Linked DNA regions of Homo sapiens: region 1 is linked to region 2. Evidence: promoter capture Hi-C in human tissues and cell types (Jung and others, 2019). All regions are on one chromosome and are shown on one strand. The core of a region is centred on a gene start or on the middle of the fragment in contact, and the rest is flanking DNA. Distances in the headings are between cores, read along the strand shown. Region 1 overlaps ZMAT3 (zinc finger matrin-type 3). Region 2 holds the start of ACTL6A (actin like 6A).

Evidence for each region. Contacts are between HindIII fragments. The study calls those that stand out against the background at their distance.
Region 1: a fragment that was not itself captured here is called in contact with the fragment with the promoter of ACTL6A in region 2 in 1 of the 25 tissues and cell types used here (dorsolateral prefrontal cortex).

The regions. Positions count from the first base shown.
Region 1 is chr3:179,046,789-179,051,785 of GRCh38, forward strand. All of the region lies in intron 2 of ZMAT3 (zinc finger matrin-type 3), which reads right to left. Among named protein-coding and RNA genes, the nearest start is that of ZMAT3, 23 kb to the right of the region's middle. The HindIII fragment of the contact is 4,901 bases long and covers 24-4,924 here.
Region 2 is chr3:179,561,274-179,565,944 of GRCh38, forward strand. It overlaps ACTL6A (actin like 6A), which reads left to right and starts at 1,653. Exons shown (of 14, transcript NM_004301.5): 1 at 1,653-1,844. The coding sequence starts at 1,820. RefSeq lists silencers at 1,515-1,744, 4,474-4,533. The HindIII fragment of the contact is 12,889 bases long and covers 1-4,671 here.

The DNA.
Region 1 (4,997 bases), core at 1,224-3,723, 510 kb before region 2:
CCTGGGAACATAACTCCATTGGCCCGTTCACACCCCTATTCCCCATAGCAGCTGCAGCAAGCCCCACCCAAGGAGAGACTGACCTCAGACATGCCTAACCCTGCCCCAACCCGATGGTCTTCTCTACCCACACTGGTGGCCGAAGACAAAGGACATAAGCTCTTGGGAGCTCTGGGGCCCCACCCACCGCATGATCATCTCTATACTACCATAGCTGATGCACTCTTGAAAGCACCACCTCCTGGCTGGAGACCAACCAACACAAAACCAGCACACTTAACAAAAATACAACCAAGGACCCTCACTGAGTCCACTTCACTCCCCGGCTACCTCCACCAGAGCAGGTGCTGGTATCCACAGCTGACAGACATGAAGATGAATCATATCACAGGACTCCCTGCAGACACTGCCCAGTACCAACCCAGAGCCCAGTAGCTCCACTAGGTGGCTAGATCCAGAAGAAAAATAACAATTATTGCAGTTCAGCTCTCAGTAAGCCCCATCCTAGAGGAAAGGTGAGAGCACCACATCAGGGGAGCACCCTGTGGGACAAAAGAATCTGAAGAGCAGCCTCTGAGTCCCAGATCTTCCCTCTGACATAGTCTACCCAAATGAGGAAGAACCACAAAAATAATTCTTGTGACATGACAAAACAAGGTTCTTTAACACCCCCAAAAGATCACCTTAGCTCACCAGCAGTGGATCCAAACCAAGGTGAAATATCTGAATTGCCAGAAAAAGAATTCAGAAGGTCAACTACTAATCCAATCAAGGAGGCACCAGGCCGAGCGTGGTGGCTCACGCCTGTAATCCCAGCACTTTGGGAGGCTGAGGCAGGCAGATCACCTGAGGTCAGGAGTTCAAGACCAGCCTGACCAACATGGTGAAACCCAATCTCTACTAAAAATACAAAAAAAAAAAATAGCCGGATGTGGTGGTGCTCGCCTATAGTCTCAGCTACTCAGGAGGCTGAAGCAGGAGAATCACTTCAGTCCGGGAGGCAAAGGTTGCAGTGAGCTGAGATCATGTGACTGCACTCCAGCCTGGGTGACAGAGTAAGACTCAGTCTCAAAAAAAAAAGGAGGCACCAGAGAAAGGTGAAGTCCAACTTAAATAAATCAAAAAATAATACAGGTATGAATGGAAAATGTTCAGTGAAATAGATAGCATAAATAAAAAACAATCACAACTTCTGGAAATGAAGGACACGCTCAGAGAAATGCAAAATGCACTGAAAAGTCTCAGCAATAGAGTCGGACAAGTAGAAGAACTTCAGAGCTCAAATATAAGGCTTTTGAATTAACCCAAATTGATAAAGACAAAGAAAAAAGAATTTTTAAAAAATGAACAAAGCCTCGAAGAAGTTTGAGATTACGATAAACGACCAAACCTAAGAATAATTGCTGTTCCTGAGGAAGAAGAGAAATCTAAAAGTTTGCAAAACATATTTGAGGGAATAATTGAGGAAAACTTCCTCAGCCTTGCTAGAGATCTAGACATCCGAATACAAGAAGCTCAAAGAACACCTAGGAAATTCATTGCAAAAAGATCATCGCCTAGGCATACAGTCATCAGGTTACCTAAAGTCAAGATGAAAGAAAGAATCTTAAGAGCTGTGAGGCAAAAGCATCAGGTAACCTATAAAGGAAAACCTATCAGATTAACAGCAGATGTCTCAGCCGAAACCCTACAAGCTAGAAGGGACTGGGGTCCTATCTTTAGCCTTCTTAAACAAAACAATTATCAGCCAAGAACTTTGTATCCAGTGAAACTAAGCTGCATAAATGAAGGAAAGATACTGTCTTTGTCAGACAAAAAACTTCTGAGAGAATTTGCCACTACCAAGCCAGCATTACAAGAACTACTAAAAGGAGTTCTAAATCTTGAAACAAATCCTCCAAATACACAAAAATAGGAAATCCTTAAAGCATAAATCTCACAGGACCTATAAAATAACACAATGGAAAAAAACCCAAGGTATTCAGGCAAAAAAAAAAAAAAAACAGCACAATGAACAAAATAGTACTTCACATGTCAATATTAACATTGAATGCAAATTGCCTAAATTCTCCACTTAAAATATTCCAAATGGCAAAACGGATAAGAATTCACCAACCAAGTATCTGCTATCTTCAAGAGACTCGTGATACATAAGGACTCACATAAACTTAAGGTAACAGGGTGAAAAAAGATATTCTATGCAAATGGACAACAAAAGTGAGCAGGAGTAGCTATTCTTATTTGAGACAAAATAAACTTCAAAGCAACAGCAGTTAAAAAAGACAAAGAGGGACATAATACAATAATAAAAGGACTAGTCCAAAAGGAAAACATCACAATCCTAAATATATATGCACCTAATACTGGAGCTTCCAAACTTATAAAACAATTACTACTAGACCTAACAAATGAGATAGACAGCAATACAATAATTGTGGGGGACTTCAATACTCCACTGACAGCACTAGACAGGTCTTTAAGACAGAAAGTCAACAAAGAAACAATAAACTATACGTTACAATAAATGCACTTCACAGATATTTACAGAGGATCCTACCCAACAACTGCAGAATATACATTCTATTCATCAGCACATGGAACATTCTTCAAGGTAGACCATATGATAGCCACAAAACAAGTCTCAACAAATTTAAGAAAATCGAACTTATAGCAAGTACTTTCTCAGACCACAGTGGAATAAAATTGGAAATCAACTCCAAAAGAAACCCTCAAAACCATGCGAATACATGGAAATTAAATAACCTGCTCCTGAATGATTGTTGGGTCAACAATAAAATCAAGATGGAAATTAAAAAATTATTTGAACTGAACGATAATAGTGATACAACCTATGAAAACCTCTGTGATACAGCAAAGGCAGTGCTAATAGCATTAACTGCCTACATCAAAAAGTTTGAAAGGGGCTGGGCATGGTTGCTCATGCCTGTAATCCCAGCACTTTGGGAGGCCAAGGCAGGCGGATCACGAGGTCAAGAGATCAAGACCATCCTGGCTAACATGGTGAAACCACGTCTCTACTAAAAATACAAAAAATTAGCTGGGCGTGGTGGTGGGCGCCTGTAGTCTCAGCTACTCGGGAGGCTGAGGCAGGAGAATGGCATGAACCTGGGAGGCAGAGCTGGCAGTAAGACAAGATCGCGCCACTGCACTCTAGTCTGGGTGACAGAGCAAGACTCCGTCTCAAAAAAAAAAAAAAAAAAAAAAAAAAGCCAAGCCTAAAAGAACACAAATAGACAATGTAAGGTCACACCTCACAGAACTGGAGAAACAAAACAATCCAAACCCAAACCCAGCAGAAGAAAAGAAATAGTCAAGATCAGAACAGAACTAAATGAAATTGAAACAAAAAAAATACAAAAGATTAAGTGAAACAAAAGGTTGGTTTTTTGACAAGATAAATAAAACTAATAAACAATTATTGAGGTTAGCCAAGAAAATAAGAGAGAAAATCCAAATAAGCTCAATTAGAAATGAAATGGGAGATATTACAACAAATACCACAGAAATACAAAAAATCATTCAAGGCTATTATGAACACCTTTATGTGCATAAACTAGAAAACCTAAAGGAGATGGGTAGAAATATACAACCCTCCTAGATTAAACCAAGAATACATAGAAACTGAACAGACCAATAACAAGCAGCAAGATTGCAATGGTAATTAAAAAGTTACCAACAAAAAAAAAAGTCCAAGACCAGAAAGATGCACAGCTGAATTCTATCAGACATTCAAAGAAGAACTGGTACCAATCCTACTGACACTACTCCAAAAGACAAAGAAATAGGGAATCCTCCCGAAATCATTCTATGAAGTCCATATCACCCTAACACCAAAACCAGGAAAGGATATTCCAAATAAAAGAAAACTACAGACCAATATCCCTGATGAACACAGATGCAAAAATCCTCAACAAAATACTAGCTAAGCAAATCCAACAGCATATCAAAAAGATAATCCACCATGATCAAGTGGGTTTCACACCAGGGATTTAGGGATGGTTTTACATCTAGGGATGGTTTAACATCCTCAAGTCAATAAATGTGATACACTACATAAAAGAATTAAAAACAAAAATCATATGATCACCTCAATAGACACAGAAAAAGCATTTGACAAAATCTAGCATCCCTTTATGGTTAAAACCCTCAGCAAAATCAGCATAGAAGAAACACACCTTAAGGTAATAAAAGCCATCTATGACAAACCCACAGCCAACATTATACTGAATGCGGAAAAGTTGAAAGCATTCCCCCTGAGAACTGGAGCAAGACAAGGATGCCCACTTTCACCACTTCTATTCACCCTAGTACTGGAAGTCCTAGCCAGAGCAATCAGACAAGAGAAAGAAATAAAGGGCATCCAAATCAATAAAGAGGAAGTCAAACTGTCACTGTTTGCTAATGAAAATGATTGTGTATCTAGAAAACCCTAAAGACTTATCCAAAAAGCTTCTGGTACTGGTAAATGAATTCAGCAAAGTTTTAGGATACAAAATTAATATATACAAATCAGTAGCTCTGCTATACACCACTATACACCAACAGCTACCAAGCAGAGAATCAAATCAAGAACTCAGCCCCTTTTACAATACCTACAAAAAAAATAAAATAAAATACATAGGAATATACTTAACCAAAGAGCTGAAAGACCTCTACAAAGAAAAGTACAAAACACTGCTGAAAGAAATAACAGATGACACAAACAAATGGAAACACAAACCATGCTCATGATGGGTAGAATCAGTGTTGTGAAAATGACCACACTGCAAAAAGCAATCCACAAATTCAATGCAATTCCCATCAAAATACCATCATCAAATTCAATGCAATTCTCATCAAAATACCATCATCATTCTTCACAGAACTAGAAAAAAATTTATATGGAACCAAAAAAGAGCCTGCATAGCCAAAGCAAGACTAAGCAAAAAGAACAAATCTAGAGGTCTTACATTACCTGACTTCAAACTATAGCATAC
Region 2 (4,671 bases), core at 403-2,902:
CTCCCAAAGTGCTAGGATTACAGCTGTGAGCCACCATGCCCAACCTGTCACATATTATTCTTTAAAATATTTTAAATAATAATTTAAAAACAGAAATAATCATTCTTAGCTCAAGGCCAAAAAAAAAAAAAAAAAAAGGCAGTCTTCCCACCTGCTTCCCCTTTTCCCCACCTCCCCTCCCCACCCCACACACAAAAGACTGGATTTGGCCCTAGTGCCATAGTGTGCTGACACACATCTGCATTATCTCACTGGGTTAATAGGGCTTTTCTAAATGGTCAGATACACTGTGATTATATTGTCAAGTGAATGGGAAAGAGTTTTCCCGCTAGCCTTTTTTCCCACCCTACTGCCTCATCACTTTCTGCCACCCTCTGCCACTGAGACTGATGGGGTTTTAGTCAATCGTTTCTAAGGTTAAAAGTAGGCACTGCATGTCTAGACTCTAGACAAGGATCAATTACAAGGATAGGCAGCAATCTTAAGGGTTTGAGCGCTGGAGTGTCCTGATCGGGTTTGGGCGTTTTCACAGATGAAGCTCCCTTGATCAAGAGTGGCAAAGGGACACAGCAACAAGTTGTTGCAGTAATCTGGGGATAAAGGAAGGTGATCTGGACTAGGCTGGTAGAAATAGGGGACTAAGGCTGTTTTTGGGATGCCTATTTAGGATTGGGTGCTTGCTTGAATGAAGATTGATTAGCTGTTTTAAATACCTCTCACAGGATAAAAGAAATTGATTTTTTTTTTTTTTGAGACAGAGTCTTGCTCTGTCGCCCAGGCTGGAGTGCAGTGGCGCAATCTCGGCTCACTGCAACCTCTGCCTCCCGGGTTCAAGCGACTCTCCTGCCTCAGCCTCCTGCGTAGCTGGGACTACAGGCCCGGCTACTTTTCTCATTTTTAGTAGACACAGGGTTTCACTGTGTTGCCTAGGCTGGTCTCGAACTCCTGACCTTGTGATCTGCCCGCCTCGGCCTACCAAAGTGCTCGGATTACACGCATGAGCCACCACGCCCGGCCTGAAATTTTTTTTTTTTTTTAAAGAAATGAGTAAGTTTTTTAATAGTTTTTAAAGCGCTACCTAGGTTTAGCTGGGATACCGCATAATTTCATTCTTCTTTTACTTATTAATAACCATTTTAAAAACTGCAAGATCCTATCAATTTGTCTGATTTACTGATTCCCCTATCCCAAAGTGGAGCGCAAAATTTTTACTTTTTCAACATAAAAGTTAGTTTAAAATACTTTTTCTGAAGAAAAAAAGAAAGAAATCCGCATTCCCCACAGTCACTGGACAGGAATCTCGGCGTGGAGACACCCGTTCAATTTCCAGGGGTCTACCTTCCCCTACCCGGGTTCCCGCCGCTCCTCAGCGCCCAGACGCACCTCCTAGTCCCGCCCCCATGCTTCTTCCAGCCTTCCTCCTTCTTCTCCCACTGCCTCCGCCCATTCCCTCGCCCACCCGGGAAGCTCCGCCCCCTCCAGCTCCGCAACCCAACTCCTTCTGTCCTGCTGTCGCTTTCCTCTTTCCCGCCCCCATGGCTGCCTTCGATTGGCTAAACCTGCTGGGCCGCGGCGGGGATGCGGCGCAGCCGCATTCTGATTGGCTAGACTTAGGCCTGGACCCTAGTGATTGGCTGATAGGAGGAGCCAGCAAGTGTGGCTGAGCTCCGGGGTGTGTGGACGCCGCTTTGTTGCCTGAGGTGGGTGGCGGTGGAAGTTAAGGGAGTCAGGGGCTATCGCTCCTCGAGACTCGCAGTCGCGGCCACTGCAGTCACTTCGCCAGTTAGCCCTTAGGGTAGGAGTCGCGCCGGCAGCAGCCATGAGCGGCGGCGTGTACGGGGGAGGTGAGTGAGTGCGGCCGGACGAGAGAGCGCGCCTTTTCGGCGTGTGGGGTTTGTAACCGCCGCTCCCAGCCCTCCCCTCCCCGGCGTTCCCTTCCGGTCTCCCCCTCTCGGGACCCCGGCCTCCCCGCCCCGTCCCCGCCCCACGCTCTGCCCGCCCCCGGAGCCCACCCGGCTCGCCGTGCTCCTCGGGCTCCCTGAAGTGGCGGCTCTCTGTGGCCTCTTCCTGCCTCTGTCCCCGGAGGAGCAGGGTTTTGGGGTGCGCGCTCGGTTCTCTAGGGAGCCTCGGGGCTGGGCGGGAGGCTCAGTCTAGCCGGCCGCCGGGCCCCGGCTTGGGTGACCGCCCCAGGGTCGCATCTCCCCGAGTGCCTCCTGGACTCAGCTGTGTCGGGACGCGTGTGCGCCCGCCTAAACTTGGAAGGTCCCGGCGGTTTGCAAGCGTGGACGGAGGGTTCCCAGAGTGTCCCATAGGTGGCAAAGCGAGCCTCAAGCCGTAGAACTGACTAGGGAAGCGGCGGCCACTTAGGGTACTGCCTCCTCCCCGTCTGCGCCCCATGCGCGAGCTGCCTCACCTTTCAGTAACTCTTGCCTGTTTTTTGGCTGCGGAGTCTCCAGAGTGACTCGTGGGCGGGTCTGTTTGAGATCAATTCAGGAGCACGTGTAATTTAAGGATGCCCAGAAAGTTTGCTGGGGGTCCTAGGCGTGTTATTTTTTCACTTTCTTTGATTAGACTGTGGTGTGGTAGGAAGATTACCAGGTGCCGGGGGTTACAGACCTGGGTTGAAATATCCACCTCACTCTTTATTAAGCGCTTTGGTCTTGGGCAGTTTATGTAACTTTCCAACTTCAGGCCTCATTTATGGAATAATTCCTAGCCGATGGGGGTGGGCATGAAGGTTAAATGAAATAATGCTGCATTTGCCACTTAAAGTCTGGCCCATGGACCAGCAGTGTCAGCATCACCTGCAAGCCTGTTAGAAATGCAGGATCTCACGCGTCATTCAGAATCTACTGATTTAGAGCCTCCATTTTTGCAAGATCTGCAGGTTAATCGAAACACTGATACATATAATTCATGTGTTGGGTTGTGTTTGATGAGTTAGAGACCCAGAAAACAAATCCAGACTATTGCTGTTGTTACTGTGTCTAGTAGTGATGCTGTTTCTATAAAGGATGTCATTTTACAGGTAGGAAACAACAAAAATAAGATTTTTCCTTCATGTTCCCCAAGAAAATCACATCACCCCTAAACTTGGAAGGAGAAAAACATTAAAATCCTCAAAAAAGACAAAAGCCTTTTTAGTAGAGTAGAGGTTCAATTCTTGAGGATTTTTATAGACTAGAAATTGCATCCTAGGTTTTAAACATCCAGAACTCTGTGGTTCTATTAAGCCTCCTGCCTCCCATGGCCACTCTCCTACTTTGGGTTCATGGGGCTTGATTTTTAATGAAGCAGGGTACAGGAATTAGATGTATCTCCCATCCTGGAAAAGGAACAGATGTAAAATTCTGAGAATTTAGAGTCTTAAATTAAAATTCCACCATATCCAGTTTACTAAACTAATTAGGACAGGAAAATGAGCTGATATGTTGGATTTTTTCTATTTCACAAAAATGTTTTTTGAGTACTTGCTATGTGGCAGGTATAGGCTCTTGTCATCAAGAAGCTCAGTCTTGTAGATGAGTCTGTTAGGTAAATAGACACCGTATTTCACTGATTCTTCGTTGTACATTTTTTCCCACATTTAAACAGCTGAAGTTGGAATATGTCTTTTTTTTTTTTTTTTTTAATAGAGATGGGTCTTGAACTCCTGAGCTCAGGCGGTCTTCCCACCTCAGCCTCCCAAAGTGCTAGGATTACAGGTTTGAGCCACTGCCCCCAGTCAGAATATGTCTTAACAGTGCTGGCGTGGCAGAGTTTAATTGCCATATTATTTTGTTAGTGATGCAGGAAATAGTGGTGCATCATGTAGTTGATAGCATCTTATATTGATCAGAAATGGTAACTGTAATTCAATGAGAGATGTTCATTGATAACAATATGTAGAAGGGGCCGGGTGCGGTGTAATCCCAACACCTTGGGAGGCCGAGGCGGGCGGATCACTTGAGGCCAGGAGTTCAAGACCAGCTTGGCCAACATGACAAAACCCTGTCTCTACTAAAAATACAAAAATTAGCCAGGCGTGGTGGTGCATGCCTGGAGTCCCAGCTGCTGGGGAGGCCGAGGCACAAGAATCGCTCGAACCTGGAACTGCACTCCAGCCTGGGTGACAGAGCGAGACTCTATCCTAAAAAAAACAAAAACAAACATATATATATGTGTGTTATATATGTTATATATATTACATATATGTTGTATATATTATATATTATATGTTATATATGTCCTATATATACATATATATAGTGCAAAGGTAGCTCAGAGAATAAAGTTATTGATTCCGTGTGGTGGAGTCAAGGGACTTTACAATAGAGGTAATGGGGATGATGGAGGAGGAGTGGAAAGGGACAGCATATGCAAAGGTTAGCTGAGTGAGAGTATGTGGTGCGTTCAGGAGATGACATATTACCCAGTAAGTTAGTGTATGAGGCAGGAAGTGAGACTGCTACCAGATTTTGCTACACCTTGAATTTCAACTGGCTAGAGTGATTTAAATTTTATCAAATACAGTGATGAGAAACCACGGAATGATTCACCCCCTAATTTTTTTTGAAGGATTTATGTACCAAAATAATGACAGTTACAGTATTGAAAGATCATAGTGCAGCAGTTGGAAGGGTGGATTGAAGAGGCAAAGAGGTGGAGGCACAATATCTGTAGGGAATTGTA